Regions from separate parts of the Homo sapiens genome. Here region 2 is linked to region 1. The links are contacts of gene promoters, found by promoter capture Hi-C in blood cells and fetal thymus (Javierre and others, 2016). All regions are on one chromosome and are shown on one strand. The core of a region is centred on a gene start or on the middle of the fragment in contact, and the rest is flanking DNA. Distances in the headings are between cores, read along the strand shown.

Region 1 (3,925 bases), core at 842-3,341:
TCAAGCAATCCTCCTGCCTTGGCCTCCCAAAGTGCTGGGATTACAGGCGTGAGCCACCACACCCAGACATTTTAAAACTTTTAACATAAATTCAGATTACAGAAAAAGTGCATGAATACACAAAAAACACTTCATATTCTTCACTCAGATTCTCCAAATGTTAACATTTTCCTTCATTTGCTTTATTGGTTTTTCATTCCTTTACCCCTGAATACTTCAGTGTGTTTTCTCGTGACAAGAATGTTTTCTTCTACCCAAAGCACAATTACCAAAATCAAAGAATTAACAGTGATCTGGTACTTCAAAATACATTTTTTTTTTCCCTGAGACAGTGTCTCGCTCTGTCACCCAGGTTGGAGTGCAGTGGCACGATCTCGGCTCACTGCAAGCTCGGACTCCCGGGTTCACGCCATTCTCCTGCCTCAGCCGCCTGAGTAGCTAGGACTACAGGCGCCCGCCACGACGCCCGGCTAATGTTTTCTATTTTCAGTAGAGACGAGATTTCATCGTGTTAGCCAGGATGGTCTCGATCTCCTGACCTCGTGTTCCACCTGCCTCGACCTCCCAAAGTTCTGGGATTACAGGCGTGAGCCACCGTGCCCGGCAGAAAATACAATTTTTGACAGCTCACGTTTCATCCCACTCAAACCTTTTTAGGTGAGGAGTGCTGCTCTGTACTTTCCTACACGATGTGCATTCCTGTATTGCGGCTGCCATTTTCCTAAGGCCAACTACATGACAGGTACCATTTTTTATGGCCTCTGTAACATAATCTTCATTAACAATTCTATGAATTAAGGTTTTTGGGGTTTTTGTTGTTAGTTTTGTTTTTTGAGACAAGGGCTCAATCTGTCTCCCAGGCTGGAGTGCAGTGGTACCATCAGGGCTCACTGCAACCTCTGCCTCCCGGGTTCAAGGGATTCTCCTGCCTGAGCCTCCTGAGTAGCTGGGGACTACAGGTGCGCACCACCACGCCCAGCTAATTTTTGTATTTCTCGGTAAAGACAGGTTTTCACCATGTTGGCCAGGCTGGTCTGGAACTCCTGACCTCAAGTGATCCGCCCACCTCGGCCTCCCAAAGTGCTGGGATTACAGGCGTGAGCCACCACACGGTCCCACGAATTAAGTTCTATTATCAATTTCATTTTAGAAGTGAGGATCCGAAGTCTCAATGAGGGGAAGTGTTGCCCCAGATCAAAAGGTTAATAAATGGCACAACAGGAATTCTTATCCCAGGTCCCTTTAGCTCCAAAGGGCAAGCTCTCTTATATCCCTAAGCCGAGAAGCATCTAACTGTACAATAAGGACTGGCATATCACAAAAATTATATTTCTTTCTCTACTGTCTCTCTAGATGGAACTTTTCAAAGGTGATGGAGGTCTTATTTTTAATAAAAGCAGAGCCAAGCATCAGAGCTGGTTCTTAACTCAAGATCCAACATCTAGTGTTTGTTCTACTGGGGGAGAAGGAGCTTCACCAGAAGACGACAGACATTCCAGGGTCCCAGCCCCAGAGATTTGATTCATTCTGTCTACTGTGAATGGGCCCTAGAATGTCGCTTTTAAAACCTCTCCAGATGGACCTGACGATTAGGCTTGGGATCTACCGCCCTCGCCTGCCCCCATACCTCAGCTGTTTCATAACTGCTCCCAGAAGAAGGAAGGGCAGGGAGGGCTACTCTCATGTTACAAAGAGCCGGAGAGGGCAAATGACTCGCCCAAGGCCACACAGCTTAGAAAAACAGCGGCGCGGGGACTAGACGCCAGGTCTCCCAACCTCCACTCCGGCTCGGCGTCCCAACACGGAGGAAGCCCCGAGACTGCCACGCTTAGAGCCCCCTCCTCCAGGCTGTCCACCCCGAGGCCTCCGCGCTCTCGGAGAGACCGCACTCTCGGAGAGACTCGGGAGAGAAAGACGAAAGACCGCCTTTGGAGGCCGAACTCAGCCATGCCTCCCCAGTTCCCAGCCCAGCACAGAGGAAGCTGCGGGGTCCGGAAGAAAAAAACGCACACAGGCGGCGGCCCCAAACCGTTGCCGCCCACTTACCTCAGCTCTGGCTTTACACTGGTAGCCGCCTTCCCCTCTGCAGCCGAAACCAACTTCCGGTCTCCTCCGGGAAGAAGCCACCGACTCTGTCCTTGATTGGCTGTAAGAGCTGTCCTTTAACGAAATTCTAGCTCCGCCTCAGACCGATCCCTCGCTGTTGCGCCTACGTATGTTTGACTCCTCCCATCCACCCGTTACTGACTTTTAAAAGTCGTAGCTGAGGGTTCCGTTTCTTCGTTTCTTTTTGAATTAAGGCATAAAATTGAACAAGACACCTTATTGCTTTATTTTTTATAGACCCCTTATTGACCAGAAACAATCTTATGTTTTAATGTTTAACATGCTCTTGTAAGACTTAACGTGAATTTAGAAATTTATGACACGAAAATAACCTCCAAAAGAAACGCTTGCTATTGCGCCTGCGTATATTCCACCCCCTTCCCCATTACCACTCTTTTACTGACTTAGTCGCTGCTGGTAGTTCCATTCCTTTTGTCCTTTTTTAATTTAACGCATACAATTAAGACGTCTTACATACAAATTCGAAAATATAGACATGCAGGGTTTTTTTGTTGTTTTTTTCTTTGAGACGGAGTCTTTCTCTTTCGCCCAGGCTGGACTGCAGTGGCGCGATTTCGGCTCGCTGCAACTTCAGTCTCCGGGATTCAAGCGATTCTCGTGCCTCAGCCTCCCGAATAGTTGGGGTTTCACCTATTTTTTTTTCTTTTTTTTGTATTTTTGGTAGAGACAGGGTTTCACCGTGTTGGCGAGGCTCATCTCGAGCTCTTGATATGAAGTGATCCGCCCGCCTCGGCCACCCAAAGTGCTGGGATTGTAGGCGTGAACCACCACTTCCGGACTCCCCCATTTTAAATCCCTCGCACGTATCAATTTATTTCCTGAAGAAATCCATCTACGTTGAGCATAACCCAATCCAGCTTTTCTCCTCACCGCTGACCCCAATGTATCCTGCACCAGTGACTTCCAATGGTCGTTCCCAGTCCTCATTTTACTCCATCTGTCAGCAGCATTTGGCACATTTGATTAATGGATTGCCCCAGGACTCAGTTCTCCAACCACTTCTCAGTCAGATATCAGCTGGATGATTACATGCAGGCCCTGGAACACCGTTTCCTCTGCACTTCAGACCCTCATATCCAGTGGTGACAGACATCTTTCCCCAGTTGCACTTTACTCAATTGCAAATGTTCAATCGAAGGAATCACCTTTTTCTCCTTTCTCACATACCCCACCGAAACTACCATACCAGCCTTTTGCATTAGATCTATTTAAAAATAAGTAAATAAAGTTCCAAATATGACTGACCACCGTTCCCACTGCTATGGTCCTATGCCATGCCACCATTATCTCTCACCTGGACTTCTTTGATTTTTTGTCCTCCCTTAGTCTATTTACCACACCTTCTTAAAATATAAGACCGGTCTTATCACTCCTCTATTCAAAATCCTCCAAGGCTTTCTATGACTTTTAGAATAAAATCTGACATCCTTCCCCTGGCCTATATCACAGGCCCTACAAAATTGCCAAGTACATCCCGGCCTTGGGGCCAATGCATTTGCCTGGAACTCTTTGCACAGATATTGACACGTCTCATTTCCTTCTTTCCTTTTTTTTTTTTTTTTTTTTTTTTTTTTTTTTGAGACGAAGTCTTGCTCTGTCACCCAGGCTGGAGTGCAGTGGCCCAATCTCGGCTCACTGCAAGCTCCACCTCCCAGGTTCACGCCATTCTCCTGCCTCAGCCTCCCCAGCAGCTGGGACTAGAGGCACACGCCATCACGCCCAGCTAATTTTTTTGTATTTTTAGTAGAGACGGGGTTTCACCGTGTTAGCCAGGATGGTCTGAATCTCCTGACCTCGT
Region 2 (3,834 bases), core at 570-3,069, 3.1 Mb before region 1:
CACTTTTGAGAATTACACTGAATTACGGTGATTGTCATGCCAGTAAAAGAAATATGAGTTTGATTTGTAAATCAATAAACCTATATGCACATTAAAAATGCAGATGCCCAGGCATCCCCTAGAGATCCCAATTCAATAAGTCTGTGGGGTCAAGAAATCTGCATCTTTAACAAGCACCACAAATTAATTTGATATAAATGGTCTGAAAATTACAGAGTGAGAAAACCAGTCAAATGATTCTCTAGAGTGTTCTGCCTACTAAAACTCAAGATAGGTGTCTTTCTTATCTTCACCTCTCTCCATCAATAGTTTCCAGAGCCTGAAGCTCTGGAAAGTTAATAAGTTTGTAGCAGACACCTTTCACACTACCAAGTCGATGAGTGTCTGAACTCAAAATTTTGAGCACTTGCCACAGGCAGTGGCCCTGTGCTAAGGACAGAAGGTTTTTAGACTCTATCATTCATAAGCTTACAGTCTTTTGAACGGATAACTAACTGCTAAGAGGAAAACTGATAAGTCTTATAATGGCGTACTCTTAATGTGCTAGGGGACTGACAGAGCAAAAAAAAAAAAAACTCATCTGACAAGAGGGTGGGCATGAGAGGGTTTCCTGAATAAGATGAAATTAGAGTTGAATATTATAGAGAGGGTACAGTTTCCCCCAGAAAGATATTGACGGGAAGGGGCAGAAAGATTTTTAAGCAAAAGGAACAACTAGTAAGGTGAAAAGTTATTTAGAGAGAATAAAGTAAAACAAGCGTAGTTTAGGCTTTCAGCCATGGCAGGAAAGCTGGGTAGATTATAGGATTTAAGCAAAGAAACGAATGATAATGATAATCAGCCTCTAGGTGAGGAAACTAAAACCACTGGAGCACATCATAGCTAATTTGTGATAGAGGTAAAACTAAAGACCAGACTTAATGTTTAAATCCATTCATTCCTCCTGCAAGCAATTATCGTACATAGAGGCACCTCTGGGCTTCTCATGACTTTCTGTTCTGCTGCCTGAATCTATTCTTGGAGAATTACAATGCCAAATTGGAATTTTAAGCTTATCTCATGGGCAGTGAGAAATCACCAGTAGATTGTAAAATTACCCTGAATTGCTCAGATTTGTGTTTAGGACCAATTCTGAGTGTCACAGTGTTTGGATACATCATAGAGGTAAAAGGAGTTAAGGAGATCCATTCTGAAATTAAGGGGATAGTGTGGTATACCCAGGTGAGATAAAAGGATATGAGTTAGGACAGAGACAACAGGACTTAATTGAAAAATGTGTAGGAGGTGGAATAATAACAATAGCATATATTTATAATTTACCCACATTAGTTCATCTTATCCTCAAAACTACCCTATGATGCAGTTACTGTTAATATTATTTTATTTAATAAATGTGAAAACTAAGGCCTTGCAAGCCTATGGCTTCACCCAGGGGTAGGATCAGGCACCTTAACTCTAGAGCCCATTCTCCTAACCACTGAGCCATGATTGTCTTACAATTTTGATACTGCAAAACTGGAAGAATTGTCTGGCTATTATCTAAGCTGTTCATAAGCTGAACAAGTAGATCTGAGGGTAAGAGGAGTTCTGTTTTAACTAGACTGAGTTTCAAATAGAGATGTTTCAGACTATAGAGGGGGAAAAATGGCCTGGGAAGATCATAAATCTAAGCCTGTTTCATTGATGTTTTTGTCATTTGCATCCAGTAGCTATTCAGCAAATATACCTATGGCAAAAAGGATATAAGTTATGGGTATAACTGAAATAATCCTGGGTTTAAAGCAAAGCTCTGATAAATACAGACGATGTTTCTCCAGGTGCCAGAAGATATGTTGAAGTTTGAGCTCAGACTGACCAAATGCTAGTTATGGGGTATGTGATAGCTCCAAGGTAGTAATATAAAGGCTATTTTAATTAGAAACTTTTGAGTAAATGGCCCTCAGGATAGTGATTTCTGTTTGAATGTCACTAACCTTTTTTAGTTACAGATCCCTATAATAATGCTTGAGTCTAGGCAGAACAACTTTGTGTTTATTCTTTGCAAAGGGTAGGGTAGTGCTAACAACCTGCTCTTCATTTGCTTTTTCTCCCCTTTGCCGATTCAGAATGCTGCTTTGTCAATTTGTGTGCCTGCTGTAGGAACTGGTCCGTTTTCCAAGTGTGACAGTGCAGGCAGAGAAGGGTGGATGAGCTGTAAATGCAGCCTAGAACACATTTGATTATAGAGAATGAAGCACTAATATCCCAATATAATTGGAGTTTAAAAAAAAAAAATACCACCTGGGCATCAATGTGTTTCCCTGCTTTGCATTTTCCCAGAACTATTTCTGCAAACATCAGTTTCCTCAGCCAACTTAATATTGAGTCACCAGAACGGAAATCAGCCATATTACTTCCTTATTTGTGTTGAAAATTGGAACAGAATGGAAATATTTCTTCCCTCAGAAGTTGGCAGGAACGGCAACAAGACAATCTGTTAGGGGTGACAGCTATAGGCTCTTCTCTTTTTTAAAAATAATATAGTCAATATTCAACATGGTTTTCTGGGGTAAAATCATCCACATTTCTGATTCTTTATGATCCTAGCAAAGCTTACATTCTGTATACCTGAAAGATGAAAAAGGAGTTGGATTAAACTTGAGTCTTACACTTATCTATTACATTTTTATTTATTAATGCTGAAGAAAGGTAATATAGGCTGGGCGCGGTGGCTCACGCCTGTAATCCCAGCACTTTGGGAGGCCGAGGCAGCCAGATCACCTGAGGTTGGGAGTTCAAGATCAGCCTGTCCAACATGGAGAAACCCCGTCTCTACTAAAAATACAAAAAATTAGCCAGGCGTGGTGGTGCATGCCTGTAATCCCAGTTACTTGCGAGGCTGAGGTGGGAGAATCGCTTGAACCTGGGGGGTGGAGGTTGCAGTGAGCCGAGATCTCACCATTGCGCTCCAGCCTGGGCAACAAGAGCGAAACTCCGTCACACACACACACACACACAAAAAGGAAAGGTAATAAAAAATTTTATCAAGTAACTTCATCCACAAACATAGTATAGCCCTTTTTAACTGATAAGAAGAAGGTGACACTTTGGTTTTCCTTTTTGAAATCTGTTCTTGGGTTTCAAATGTCAGCTGCTACATTAAAAACAGCAGGCATAATATATATATATATATTTTTTTTTCCAAATACAAATGCACGTACTCTTGTGTCTCCCATGGCATCTAATATACCTGCCTTAATGACCTCAGCCCACTTAACTGATTTGGTGAACAATTCTGCATCTGAGGCTGTATATGTGAGGAAAAATTAAAGGATTGGAAATGAAAGTAAAATAACTATAGTATAAAGGATCATATGTTCAAAGCATGCAGGCCTAATATTATAGGAAGTCCCAAACATATAAGTGAATTGCATTCCTAGAACTGACACATTTGTCTTTTCTCTGTTGCATTCACAATATAATTACATTTCAGTCACATTGTCTTAGATACAGTTGGCTGTTTCTGGGCTGTCTTTCAAGCTGGTTTGTAAATTCCTGAGGGTCTAGGACAGTGTCCTAATTCTCCTTAGCAACTCTTGCACCACCTACTGTACTTCATCTTCCACGATGGATCCTTGACCTAGCTGAGCTGTAGTTTTAAAGTCATTAGTCTAGAATGAGCAGAATGGTCATAGTCAATGCAGTTTGTGCTGCAAGTAGCAGAAACCCATTCAAGCTGACTTAGCAAAAAGGAGACTTAGTGTGAGGAAATAATAGTACCCTGATACCAAGGATGATTTGTTCTTCCCTCACTATTTTTTTCTGCTTTGTCACCTTCTTGGACACGTATCTTTG

Evidence for each region. The method cuts DNA at HindIII sites, captures the fragments that hold promoters and counts their contacts. A CHiCAGO score of 5 or more calls a contact.
Region 2: a contact is called between a fragment that was not itself captured here and the fragment with the promoter of MED7 in region 1, in 1 of 17 cell types (total B cells). The highest score is 5.2, in total B cells.

The regions. Positions count from the first base shown.
Region 1 is chr5:157,140,774-157,144,698 of GRCh38, forward strand. MED7 (mediator complex subunit 7) reads right to left here and starts at 2,092. Exons shown (of 2, transcript NM_004270.5): 1 at 2,047-2,092. RefSeq lists enhancers at 1,760-1,809, 2,620-2,719. The HindIII fragment of the contact is 9,177 bases long and covers 1-3,925 here.
Region 2 is chr5:154,040,572-154,044,405 of GRCh38, forward strand. The region is part of intron 1 of MFAP3 (microfibril associated protein 3); the gene reads left to right. Among named protein-coding and RNA genes, the nearest start is that of MFAP3, 3.5 kb to the left of the region's middle. The HindIII fragment of the contact is 1,540 bases long and covers 1,050-2,589 here.